Linked DNA regions of Homo sapiens: region 2 is linked to region 1. The links are contacts of gene promoters, found by promoter capture Hi-C in blood cells and fetal thymus (Javierre and others, 2016). All regions are on one chromosome and are shown on one strand. Each heading gives the region's core, a stretch centred on a gene start or on the middle of the fragment in contact. The rest is flanking DNA. Distances are from core to core; before and after follow the strand shown. Region 1 holds the start of CARD18 (caspase recruitment domain family member 18). Region 2 holds the start of LINC02552 (long intergenic non-protein coding RNA 2552).

What was found. Contacts are between HindIII fragments. The CHiCAGO score rates a contact against its expected background, and 5 or more counts as called.
Region 2: a contact is called between a fragment that was not itself captured here and the fragment with the promoter of CARD18 in region 1, in 3 of 17 cell types (total CD4 T cells, activated CD4 T cells and non-activated CD4 T cells). The highest score is 7.7, in total CD4 T cells.

What each region holds. Positions count from the first base shown.
Region 1 is chr11:105,135,093-105,142,806 of GRCh38, reverse strand. It overlaps CARD18 (caspase recruitment domain family member 18), which reads left to right and starts at 3,038. Exons shown (of 3, transcript NM_021571.4): 1 at 3,038-3,087; 2 at 3,729-3,995; 3 at 4,709-5,093. The coding sequence starts at 3,081. The coding sequence ends at 3,994. The HindIII fragment of the contact is 11,660 bases long and covers 1,712-7,714 here.
Region 2 is chr11:104,605,086-104,611,910 of GRCh38, reverse strand. LINC02552 (long intergenic non-protein coding RNA 2552) reads left to right here and starts at 2,609. Exons shown (of 4, transcript NR_120585.1): 1 at 2,609-2,674. The HindIII fragment of the contact is 1,713 bases long and covers 2,474-4,186 here.

The sequences.
Region 1 (7,714 bases), core at 1,789-4,288:
CATTGAGTATCTTCAAAGAGTTATAAATGACATAAGTAAAGGTGGCAACTAGATAACTTATGCTTTCATGTCATAACTGCTCCCTACTCCCACAAAAGTAACAAATACTCTTTTCCTAATGACAAATCTGAATTGCTAGTGCAAATAAAATTCCAGAAATCTGAAACGAGCCTAGATCTAAATTTTCAAGTCATCACTCATCCTTTAAAACACTACCTGTTGCTTATCATGTAATTTATTTATTTTATGATAATTATATCTCAATTCAAATTATATTCTGGAGTAAGTGCCTTTACAAATAGGGTAGTAGATAATTCCACTTTTAGTTATTATGAGGTCTCTATTCTCTTCTTGTAGTCTTACCAGGCTTACACATACTTGAGTGTTTTCCAGAAAAACAGGAAAAGGAAATCCTGCCTTTTCCATTCAAACATTATAATCATGGGCACTTTCATTTTGAAGTCAGCAATAGAGTGGCATATCTAAGAGTTCTCTGCTTAGCTTTGAGAGATCTGGGAAGCATATGTGAGTTTGGGAATCCTCGTGCTTACAGTTTTGCTTTCTAGAGGTATCAGTTGGCCACCAGCTATTGTCAGGCACCATCTCCTGTACTTCCATAGAATGGTGTGCTTTCCTGGCTGGTGGAGAACCAGGATAATATTCTTCTCTCTGTGATTTCCACAGTGATGTTCCATTCTTTCTGTGATTTGTCTTCTTCTTGTTCCAGATCCCAGTTTCATTCAGACCATCTCTAATTTCTATCCTGCCATAAATATTCCCTAAAGCAAGAGGACACAGAGCCTGCTATAAGCTAGATTGGAAAAGTAGGGAGAAAAAGAAAAAAAAGTCAAAGAAGTCAAAGATTAAAATCTCCACAATGTTTGACTATATACTACCAAGATAGAAATGTCTATTCCCAAGAAAATAAATGCAATTATTTGCCAAGAAAGCAGAAAGCAAATTGGCAGACTTCAGGTAAAATGTGAACCACAGGCAAGCTTTGTTTAATTTTCACAGTGTTTTAAAACAATAGTAAACCAACTGAAAGTATTTTTAAAATTAGAGATAAAGTACCCTTAAAATGAAAAAGTAAACTGAATTTTCATTCTCTTAGCCAAAATTAGTTGGGTCTGAGGAGCCCTGCCCCTTCAGAGAGGACTACCCTTACCAGATAGGCACAGCCTCCCCTCTCCAATTCACCTCATTTGGTGTATTCCTGGGCCCATGGGCACATAAGCTGTAGCACCTTGCCCAGATTTTAAATATTTATCAAATTATGTCACATATATAAGCTAATACAAATATTTTACCAAAGATGTGATTCCCCCAATCTTCTGAGAATATTTTTCTTTAAAGAACTCTTAAAATATTTTGTATACATTTAATGAGTATATGTGTCTCTCCTACTATCATACAACTTCTAATAGGGTAGGAATTTTTGTCTGTTTTTGGTCATTACTACATCCCCAGCATCTATAATAATGTATGGCACATAGACTTGGGTCTCAGTAAATAACTATGCTGAATATTTATGTTGAATGAATTGATGAGATGAATAGGGGATTTTACATGGACATATATAATAATTGAGGTGCTTCCTTTATGCCAGGGGCTATTTTAATGACTTATATTTGTTCATTAAATACTTGCAATAAAACTGCAAGGTAGGAATTATCATCAAACCTATCTGGCAGATGGGAAGACTAAAGCTTGGTTAATTTCCTTTCCTAAGATCAGCAGTTAAAATATGGATCCAACCATTCTGGCTTCAGAGTCTGTGCCCTTAATCTTTGTAATACAGTGTTACTTAAAATGGTGCCATCTGAAGAAAAAGAGCCTTACGTAACAAAGCACTTTTATTCCAAATAGCAAAACTGCTTCATACACCATTTCTGCGTCTGGAGACTGCCTAGAGCTTAGGTAAAAAACAATGAAAGGAAGGTAAGAAGTCTTAGTCCATCTCACACCCATTAGGATGGCTATTATCAAAAGAACAGAAAAATAATATGTATTGGTGAGGACATGGAAAAACTGGAACGCTTCTGCTTTATATGTGGGAATGTAATACAGTGCAGCTGCTATGGAAAACAGCATACCGATTTCACAAAACAAAATGAAATAGAATTACTCTATGATTTGTCAGTTCCACTTCTGGGTATATATTCAAATAATTGACAGCAGAATCTCAAAAACATATTTGTATACCATGTTCATAGCAGTGTTATTTACAATAGCAAAAGGGAAGAAATTTGTGCTCAATGAAGAATGGGTAAACTAAAATGTGGTACATACATAGAATGGAGTATTATTCAACTTCAGAAAGAAAGGAAATTGTGACCCATGCCACAACATGAATAAACACCGAGGACATTACACTAAGTGAAATAAGTCAGGCATCAAAAAATGAATACTGTATAATTCTACTTACATGAGATACCTAGAGAAGTCAAATTCATAAAGACAGAAAGTACAATGTTAGTTGCCAGGGACTGATGGAAGGAAAGGATAGAGAGTTACTGTTTAAGGAGTATAGAGTTTCAATTTCCCAAAATGAAAACAACTACAGTTGGATGATATTGATGGCTACACAGCAATGTGAATGTACTTAATGCCACTGAACTGGATACTGTAAAATGGCTAAGATGGTAAATTTTATATTATGTGTATTTTACCACAATTTAAAAAAGGAACTCTTAGTACTTGATTTAGGTGGCACAACTACCCTATACTGTGATTTTACTTTCCATTTAAATCTCAGTGAATTAAAGATTGTTTACTGCATGTGTTTAGCTCTGTGTGTGCCTTCTCAATTCTCTCCTATTCTTGTTTCTCACCCACCAAGGAATGGTAAAGCAATTTTCTTATGGGCACAGTTCATGCTACAATCTGAGATTCAATTGTGTAAAAATACCTTGGGAAATGACAATAGTTAACAGCTTCTTGGGCAATAATTATAAATACACATGTGTAGGTGTAAGTATTGTTCATTGATCTGTGTACACGCCCTGCCTAAAAGGATAGAGCTACCTTGCCTGTCATTGCAAGTGTAACACACATTGCAAGTGCCAACGTGAGGAGCCATGGCTGGTGAGTCTTCCCCAGTAAGAGGATAGGTCTTAGGGAGGAATTAGTTTGGGAAAGGACTGCCTTTCTCATTAGGCTTTGTGAAGGTTTGTGTGGGCAGCCTTGGGGTGGAGAGAGAAAGAAGAAGGGAGAGGCAGGGTGGGAAGATGCCCAGACTTGCACAGCGTTTTTGAAGGAACAGATAAAGGCCAGGAAGAATCTGGGATCCTACTGGTATCTGCTATAATTTTGCTAGTGTTGTCCACATTTGAAGAGTTATGTAGTTCAGGATGAGAATGGGCACAGGATGGGTATCAGTAGCTGTTGTTCTCAAAGGAAACAGTCAATTCCCTTCAAAATTCATGAAACTGTCAATTCCCTTCAAAATTCAAGAAACTGGGATGTGTCAGAATAGAATGACTTCTGATTTTTAGGAGATTCACAGAAAAATCATGAAGTCAAGTTTCCCAGGTCACTCAGTGAGCATATGTAGGTAATGCTAGAATCAGAAGGAAGTACGTGGAGTAAATGCAAAGGTATAAGACCGTTCCTTGGGATTACTGTACTTGTGGAGAGAAATGTTTAAATGATTGTTACCCTGTTGGTAAATTGAGAGGGAAATTGTGTCATGTTCATTATTTGAGGAATCTTTGTGCTTCCAACAGACCAACTCTTGCGTAAAAAGAGAAGAATTTTTATCCATTCAGTGGGTGCAGGCACAATAAATGCCTTGCTGGATTGCCTATTAGAGGATGAAGTTATTAGCCAGGAAGACATGAACAAAGTGAGAGATGAAAATGACACTGTCATGGATAAGGCTCGAGTCTTGATTGACCTTGTTACTGGAAAAGGACCCAAGTCTTGCTGCAAATTTATCAAGCATCTCTGTGAAGAAGACCCTCAACTTGCCTCAAAGATGGGTTTGCACTAAGGTAAGGTGGAATGATTCAACCTAATGTCCAAATAGGCCCTGTATCTTGAATTCAGTTATGATTTTCTTCACTTGTCTTGTCAGTTGATAATAGGGTTCCTATCATTTTAGCCTCAGACTCCATTCCTTTATGCATGGCTCTAGCTTATGTCTCTTCTGTCTACGTTTTTGTGTCCCTTGTACCTGTTCTCTCAGTACTCCCTGCTGACCACAGCTCATCTCTAATTCTATGTAGGTGGTAGATCATTACTGTAGTTCATTTAAAGAGCCTAGATGTTTTATCCTGAATCTTTTAATGGTCCTGGGGAGCAATGTACAATATCACTCCCTCTTGAGCCTAAGAAGCCCATGTATTTATTAGAAGAGAAGGTATAAGCTCTTTTTGTACCTACCACCCTGCTCTTACCCCATCTCCCTATTAAGTACTTTTCAGAATATACAATGATGATGGAATTGTCAAAGAATAAATTGAGTGTGTATATAAAATTAAATATGCACTAAATAATTATATTTGCATGAAATTATATATGGATTCTCGTTGGAAGTCATCTCCTTTGCCTTTTCTTTTGTGTAATATGGTCTACTTGCATGGGGCTAGTCTACAGACCATTCTCTGTAGCCTATCCCTTTGTATTTCTAGGCCTCCTAAGAGCCCTGATGCAGGCTCTTGTATCTGAGCTGGCCCATTCCAATACCACTTTTCTCCCTCCACAGAGAGAAGATGGAACTCTGGAGCACTTCAGAGACTTCCCAGAGCTTCTTCCAAGGGAGAAGATATTCTCGTGAAAGAAAAAAACAAAACAAAACAACAGTGCTTTTTTCAAACCTGATTAATTTCATCAATTTCCAATAAATCTTTCATTCTCTCATATTACTTTCTTCTTATTCTTTCTCTCCTCATACCAACAGAGGATAATTCATCAATAATAATGAAGGTCATGATGATTGTAATGTAATTAAGAAAGTCCCTCCCTTTCCCTTCCTTTCTGTTTAGTTCCTTTGCAATCCTGTAGAGACATGTACAGCTTACTTTGGTGCTTTTAGCACTGAGAGTCTGCTGTGATGGGAATAAAATGAAGTCCCAGCTCAGAATTTTAAATAGCGTTGCTTCTTTGTAATGTTCTCATCTAGTTGTTCAGACCCAGGTCTATGACAATTACTCAACAAAATAAACACAACTTCCTTTCTGGGAAAATAATAGAGAAAAATCCATGGCAGATACTCCATTGCCAGACATCAGGCTTCCACAAAAAAACTGTTCATAAAAGCACTGATAGCATTTCAAGTCCACATGGGCAGGGTGAAACAAGATATGACTTAATGTCTGAGGAATGGAGATTTGTGGAGTCAAGATAGTGTGATGGCATGTCATCGCTTTGCACCCTTCAGAGCAAAACACTGGCTATTAATTATGCTTAAGCTGTCTTTTCCCTGTGTATATAGTGTTAAATAATGAAGCATTGTCTTCTAGATGCCTCAGGATGTCTTCTAATTTGTTAGCTCATGTCAATTTCTAAAATTTCTGGCATAGGTGCTAACAAAGCATTGGGTGCCAGGAACAAAGGCCAAAAGAATTTCCTGAATTTTTTAGGTTTGTGCACTTTTTCCAAGCTCTTTAGCAAACTAAAATAAAACTTAATGTGATTCCTCTCCTTTCTGAATTTGTCAGCCATAAATTACGGAGAAAATAATTATTATAGGTTGACACCAAATACAGTAAATGGGAATGTTTGTTACTTTCTTCTACAGAAGAGGTATATGCCACTGACCGGAAGTGTTTATTTGAGATAAGTGATTAAGGTTAGGGCTATTCTCATTTGCAATCAGCTGGTTTATTTGAGAAAACACATTTTGAGGGTGATATTGTTTGTCTCTGTGTCCCCACCCAAATCTCATCTTGTAGCTCCCATAATTACCACGTGTTGTGGCAGGGACCCTGCGGGAGATAACTGAATCACGGGGACAGGTCTTTCCTATGCTGCTCTTGTAACAGTGAATAAGTCTCATGAAATCTGATGGTTTTAAAAATGGGAGTTTCCCTACACAAGCTCTCTCTCTTTGCCTGTTGCCCTCCATGTAAAATGTGACTTGCTCCTTCTTGTCTTCTATTATGATTGTAAGGCCTCCCCAGCCATGTGGAACTGTAAGTCCACTAAACCTCTTTCTTTTGTAAATTGCCCAGTTTCAGATATTGTCTCGGAATAATACACAGGGATTTACATTTTGAGTGTAGTTTGGCAGTATGCTCAGTATTCAAGGGAACAAGTTTGAGGTGAAGATAGGTCTGTCATAAGCTCAGTGATCATTTGGAAATTATCTTAACCTTTTTGTGGCACAAATTCCTTATATGTAAAAAGGAATTAAAAACACCATCCACATAGAGTCTTTGAAAGAATGAAATGGGTTTACAAAGGGCTAAGCCCAGTTCTTGCCAATGAATGAGCAAGAAATACATTTTTCCTGCATGTATAATAATTTTATTGGTATATTCCTTTATAGAGACATAGAATCATGATACAGAGTAAAGGATAAAAGTCCAGGGAATAAAAATCATAACCCATATAATTTTTCTTTAACTCCATATAAAGTACAAAACCTATAAATAATCAAATCAAGACTGTAAAAGTCTGTCCAGCCTATATAATTTATGTGAGGATTAGGGCAGCTCATGAGTATCCTCACCTTCAGTAAAGCTGTTAGAGTCAATTAGTGCCCCTGCTAAGAACCTGGGATAATTTATGCTGGACAGCAACAGGCAATGAGCAGTGATGTCTGCGAGGTCACTGAAACGAAAGACTTAAAGGAGTAGCTCAATCTGTGAGTCTTTTTTACTACCTAACCTGACTTGATCCCCTGAAGCCGAAAAGTAGCTAAACACAATGTGTTTTCAGTCAACCCTAGTAAACGTATATCTAGATCAAATAGTGGAATCTAAAACAAAACAAAACAAAAACACACAGTTCAAAACAATTCCTTTACTTCTCTTGAATCTCCCCTACCTCAACCAGATAATCATCCATAAGCTCTTCTCACAAAAGTATTTTGGAGCCACCACTGTTGGAGCCAGACAATTCTGGGGGCATGTAAGTTACACCTCTATTTAAAACAAAGCAATAGCTTTCCCGTGTTGGCCTTTAACACGACCAACAAATGTTATTCTCTGTGGCCTCCTTACCTATCCAGCCTCCTCGTGGAGTGCATTAACATTGTGGAGTGGAGTGCTAAGCTCTTGATGCAGACTCTTTCCTAATTTCCATGTCTGCACATTTCCCATCTCACTCTATTTCCTCTTATCAGAATGCTCTTCTCTTCAACCCATGCCTAACTTTTTATGATGCAGTCAGATGTCACTGCCCTATGGAAGCATTTATTGACACTGACTGGCTTGCATTCTTCTGATTATTTGCTTTTCTAATAACAGCTAGCTTTCAAGGAGGTCTTTACTGTGTGTCAGCACTTAGTATCTTCTCATTTATTCTCCACAACAGCCTTATTAAATTATTACAATTAGTATAACTTAGTCCCACTTTTCAGAGATAACTTGCCCAATACCACAAAGCTAAGAGGGAGCTGTGACATTAATGGCTGTGTATTCAAGACATCAATACATGGCATAAATAATGTCACTTACCTCCTGATCATAACACCTATCATAGATTGGAAGAGGTTCTATTTTTTATTTTAATATGGTTATTTGTGTAAATTTTCTATCCTAAATCA
Region 2 (6,825 bases), core at 2,081-4,580, 530 kb after region 1:
GCTTTTAAGAAATTGATGTATACAGTTAACACGCCGAGCACATTCTTATATTCCATGCTGTTAGGTAGCTACTAAACCGATTTACAGCCTGTCAGAGCAACTATCTCTGCAAACCACTTTACCAAAGTTTAAAATTATTTGAAAATAGTAAATTAAAAATAATTACCTGGAAAGAACTATTCTAACTTACCAATGATCGGATTCACAGGATTGCCACAAATTGGGTATGAATAATATCTAAAAATATAAAATGTAATAAAATATACATAATATTATGTGTAAAACCATATTATGTATACGATAACTTCCAAATTTGTTTTTTTTTCTGAATCACAAAGTGCTTCAACGTTATCAACAAAGATCAATTACCATGTTTCCGTGAATTTGTACATGGGCTTCTTGTTTCTTAGAGATTTATGGTTGACTGCTTGATTGATACGTTTTATCTTATTTAAATTGACTATGGTGCCATCAGTTTTTTTCTCACTTAAGTTCTACACATATATATGCATAAAATGTTGGTTATTAGTTATTCCCCTTGCTTTTCCTGCGTCATTTATTTTCTTCAATAAGCGGCTTCAGGGAAAAAAATAAAACACTGGCTAAGGATTAAAAACAGTTACTGTTCTCATCCAAGTTACAAATTAGTGTTTATAATTAAACTCCAAACTTAACAATTTCTTTGTTTTGAATCCATCCTGTTGAGTGGTTACAGAATTGTCTATTTCTTCTAACCTAATGCTAATAATGTGCTGGCTTCTACATCTTTATAATTGTTCATTAGCTTCAAGCAGTATGCTTTGACTTCTATGTCCTTGAAACTATGAAATTATGTTTCTATAATTCAGTTTTTCTTAATGTTTCTACTTTACATAGAATGTATTATGAAACTGAGATCTGAGGCATTTTTAGAAATTCTGAACGGGGGATATCAGTTTAGTCAGAACAGTGTCAAATGTGGAACCCAAACAACATAATTGGTACTTTGAGGTTGAGGTTGATGTGACATTCTCTTGAACATATTTTAATACTAATGCATATTTAAATTAAGATTTTAACCTCCTGACGTTCAAACCAACAAGCCAATCACTATCCAACTAGAGAGACATGTCTTACAAATAAGATGACACGACAAAAATCACTTGTCTTGAATCTATGTTTATTGCACAAGAGATTTGAAAAAAGACTAGTTGTTTATTAATATTTTGACAGTGAATTTTTATATTAAAATAGCTTTTCCAATGGATTATACACCCAGAAACCATCCCAAATATATTTGTCTATATCCTGAAAGGCTGCTACCTAAAAATGATGGTATGGCATGTGTTCAAACATGACATCCATTTCATTTTACAATTTTATCTTTTTATATAGCAGGTAGATTTCTGGCTATCCTACACAATATAATTTTTTGTTTCCAAGAAGACCAGATGAGGTAGGCATCTGTATTAGAAATACGCTAGACCTCCCTATCAGAATCTACCTGTCCAGAAATAGTATTATTTATTGTATCCCTTTTTGATCCTTGTTACCAGCCTCAAAGTAGCAAGGCTTCTTCAAAGAAGCTTAGCTTTGATCGTGACCAGAGCCAGGTTGACAGGTGAGATGTTAAAGTTTGTTTTGCCCCAACATGATCTTGTCATGACCCATTTTGGTGCCATGCAGCTGAAGGTATGTTTTGGTTGAGGATTCTAACTATTCTAACTTCCAGTGAATTCATGCACAGCTGGATCTTGTTGGGAAAAAGAATCATCTTTCAACCCTTCAATGGTATTTCCTACTTACCATTTCATTTAACATTTATCAGAGTGCCACCTTTGTAGTAAAATGCTGAAGTGAAAATTCTTATGTTTAATAGCAGGGAAAAGTGAAAATGATTGTATCTGATTGAATCTGTACTTGCAGTGAACAGTTTAAATTTAAATTGGGAAGGTGCCAGAGGCCTATTGGCTTCCTTCCGTAATTGTCAAGTTCCATGGAATGGAGGAAGTTATTTTAATTCCAAGTAACAAGAATAATTTTGCATCCTGAGATCCAGTGCTGCTACTTAAAACCAAAATACACCAACATTTTATGGCACAGAAATACAGAAGATCCTTCTTGCCAAATGCCTCTGTGTTTATTTACTTCAAGTCCCAGAAGAACAACCCAGATCAATTTTGCCACTGACATTATAAATAGCATAGCAAATTCATAAGGAGTCTTTTCTTCAAAGAACGGAAACTAATCTGAAGTCTGATTAAACTCACAGGGTCCTTGTGAGGGAGATGGGAAGAGGCAGAGTATTTTGTCTAATTTCAAGTTCAAGAAAGCAAAGAACACAAAAGTTAAGTGGCTGGTGTCCATTTACTCAAGTAAATGTATTCAGGAGTTGAGCCAGAAATAAAGATCAAGTCTTCTGGCCCATGCACTAGGCCCCATGCTGCCTCACAGCTTTCAAAACCTTCATTTTCTTGGGAAATGCTAAAAAGCTTTCCCCTACCATACATACTAGATTCAGACACACTGCCATCTACTGACCCACCAAAGGATGTGCCAGCACAAGACATCCTGACCTTCAAGGGAGGGAGGAACACCTTGAGAGGAGTTGAGATCCTGCTTTCTCTTCAGAATGCCATCTCTAGGATGCCAATGGGCTGTGTCTACAGTACTATGTAGGAAAGTGCTGCAAGAGGTAAGTGAATTTAGAATATTTCCTCCCCGATGAAGGGATTAGTATTCTGGCACTATTAATATTTATATAACGATGTCACAATGCACCATGTTGTCTATATGTGGGATATCCTTGAAATAACCCCTTCCTCTCGTACTCTTATTTTGACATATTCGTCTAGGGATTTGAATAGTATAAGACAGCCTTTCTTTTTCACATAAAACAGTTTGAGGAATGCCATACGATTTTTGTGTTGTCTATTTTGTCTTTCACTGGTGTCCTATAAGATGTGCTAGTTATCCTACATGATGCCAAGAAAGGCATAATAGAAACCAAGCTAAATAGCCACAGTCCTGTGCTTGTAGAAAATATCATAAAATGTCCTAAAAGAGCTCTAACAATAGGAGAACTAGGCTCCTAACTATAATTTCAGCAATATTCTTTTTCGTTCAGAGCCAAGGTATTTTTTTCCCAGAAAAAATATCAGTGTCTTTCTTGCCACATCAACCCTTTAGAGGTTGCCTACATTCTTCCTAGAATAAAAGTAACATTTTAAAGACTTCATCAAGCGATGATGAATACAATTACTGTTTTTATTCCATTTTTACAGCCAAAAATTAAAGTTATGATGTTTGTCTATTGCTTGTGATTGTACTTAGTCCATTGCCTCTAAGAAAGAAGTTGAATTTAAGTATGTGGACCATATATTTCTTTTTTGATGAGTGTAAATGGATAAAATTAATATCTTAATATATAATCAGTGTCTATAAAAGAATCCACGTAGTAGCAGAGAAGCATTTGTGCCATGCTGGTTACTTGTCTTCATTTGCTTTGAGATCTCAAGAAAAGTTTATTTCCCAGGATGGTGGTTCACAGGCATTGTGGTTGAGGACTATACATAGAAAACTAATTGTGAAAATAGAACTTATTCCTATTCTTTCAGGATATGAAATCTTATGTTCATGACAATTTAATTGTTTTTATAAAATAATTGGTTTGGCATTACAGTTAGTAAAGCAGAACTTATCCTTTGAAGTTTACAGCTTGGAACTCAATCTGAAGAAGACCACTGATTTAATTTGGAATAAATGTCTATATGTGTCCAACCAAATCTTTACAGAAATATCTTAAGTCTTCTTAGGCAGAAATAAGAAACTGTTGTTTCCAAATTTTTTAAATGTCAAGAGGGTCTCTAAAATTATGACAGAGATGAGGGATACAAGGAGAGATACATAAAGAATGGAAACATCTGGGAGTTTTACTGACTCAGTGAAACTAGGGCATTGTGAAAACCTAATTGAAAAATCTACAGAGAGAAAAGTCCAGTTCACAAATCTGGCCCTCACATGTTCAGTCCTTAGTAAAGGCTTATTAGATATTGCAAGATGAGAGTGAGGTCCAGGAATGGTTAAATGAAAAATGAGAAAATAAAAGGTTATGAGGAGAGCAGGAAGGAATAATAATAGGAGGGTGCCAAGGCATTTGAACATCTTTGTTATGAGCTTGGACAAGATGCTAGACATTTAGAAAGCTTACCTGAGTTAAACTGAACTACCAAACTTATTGAGAAGCAGTAACAAGAACAAAATGTTCTTTAGCCTTGTTCTATTTAAAGCAGATGCATGCATATTAATCTTTTACAACATGATATTTATATTTGATTCTTCTTGTAAAACCATCACAAGACATCAACTCGTCAGAATACATAGATTTTTTAAATGTTTGCAGAAACTATCTTCCTGACACTGGAATGGTGAATTAATTCAAGTGTTATCCATATGTTTCCTCTGTTATTCTTTCTTTTAATTTTTCTGTCATTATATTTTTGATGATTTAAGACAGAGATACAACATCACATTTTCTTAAATAAAGAATATAAAAATAATTTCACACAGAATTAAAGGTATTTGTACAAATTAGTATGGTTTGTTTTAGATAAAAGATTAAGTAATCAGTTAAATCTCCTAGACCTAGGTGAGCCATAAGAAACACAGGCAGCGTCTGGCATTCTTGTAGAGTTGAGGAGACAGCTGAGAGTTCCCAGACAAAAGCAGCTAGGGTTCACAGAGCATGAGCGAGGGGAGAGCTGCATGGGGAGAAAACTCTGGCAATTTCTATCAGGTCTTTCTCAAGTGTTTCAGGAGAGAACTCATCTGCACACGTGTGGGTGAAATCTACTCGAAACTGAAGAATGAACCTCTGGAAGGACTAAGGGGAACAATTCTTGGAGCTCAGGTTAGGCCAAGAATATTTTATTTTTCTTCACCATCCAGAAGGGTCAGTTCATCAAGAGGATATAGCATTGTGAAGTATTTATGCAAGTAGTAACAGAGCTTCAAAATACATGAAACGAAAATAGATAAAGCTGCAAGGAGACACATATTCAAAAAATAGTTTAAGGTTTCAATATCCCACTCTCAATAATTGATAGAAAAAGTTATGCTAATTCTATACAAACTCTTCCAAAAATTGAAAAGTATGGAATACTTTCCTAATCAGTTAATGATGCTAGCATTACTCTGACACTAAAACAAACAAACAAAAAAAGCATTTTAAGAAAAGAAAACCGGCTGGACACGGTGGCTCACGCCTATAATCCCAGCACTTTGGGAGGCCGAGGCAGGTGGATCACAAGGTCAGGAGATCAAGAATATCTTGGCCAGCATGGTGAAATCCCATCTCTACTAAAAATACAAAAATTAGCCAGGTATGGTGGCACGCGCTTTTAATCCCTGCTACTCCGGAGGCTGAGGCAGAAGAATCACTTGAACCCAGGAGGCGGAGATTGAAGTGAGCTGAGATCGCACTATTGCACTCCAGCCTGGGTAACAAGAGTGAAATTCGTCTCAAAAATAAATAAAATAAAATAAAATCAGAGACCGATATTTTGCATGAACATAAGATATAATAATTCTTAACTAAATGTAAAAAAAAAAACAGAATCCAACAATATGGAAAAAGCATAACGCATCATTACCAAATATGTATTATCCCATAAAATGCAAAAGTGGTTTAACATTTGAAATTTATCAATATAATTTACCATGTTAACAGATTAAAAAGAAAAAATATACAGTAATCTAAATAGATGCAGAAAAAAACTAAGACAATCGGATTTAACATCTATTTCTGATAAAAACTCTCAGCACATTAGAAAAAGACAGGAACTTATAAAAACCTACATACAATATCATATTTGTGTTATGGGTTAAATGCTTTTCTCCTAAGGTAAGGAACAAGAAAACTTCATTTGCTCTTTTCAACATTGTACAGGAGGATCTAGTTAGTGCACTAAGGCAAGAAAAATAAATAAAATACATTCAAATTGGAAAACAAGTAATTTATTATTATTATAATTTAAGTTCTGGGATAGATGTGCAGAACGTGAAGGTTTGTTACGCAGGCATACCGTGCTATGGTGATTTGCAGCACCCATCAACCATCATCTACATTGGGTATTTCTCCTAATGCTATCCCTCCCCTAGCCCCCTACCCACTGACGGAACCTGGTGTGTGATGTTCCCTTCCCTGTGTCCATGTGTTCTCATTGTTCAACTCTCACTTATGAGTGAGAACATGCAGTGTTTGGTTTTCTGTTCCTGTGATAGTTTGCTGAGAATGATGGCTTCCAGCTTCATCCATGTCCCTGCAGAGGACATGAACTCACCCTTTTTTATGGCTGCATAGTATTCCATGGTGTATGTCTCACATTTTTTTGATACAGTCTATTATTGATGGGCATTTGGGTTGGTTGCGAGTCTTTGCTATTGTGAATAGTCCTGCAATAAACATATGTGTGCATGTGTCTTTATAATAGAATGATTTATAATCCTTTGGGTACATACCCAGTAATAGGATTGCTGGGTCAAATGATATTTCTGGTTCTAGATCCTTGAGGAATTGCCACACTGTCTTCCACAATGGTTGAACTAATTTACACTCCCACCAACAGTGTAAAAGTGTTCCTATTTATCCACATCCTCTCCAGCATCTGTTGTTTCCTGACTTTTTAATGATTGCCTTTCTAACTGGTGTGAGGTAGTATCTCATTGTGGTTTTGATTTTTTTTTTGAGACAGAGTCTAACTCTGTCACCCAGGCCGGAGTGCAGTGGTGCAATCTGGGCTCACTGCAACCCCCGCCCCCGAGTTCAAGCAATTCTCCTGCCTCAGC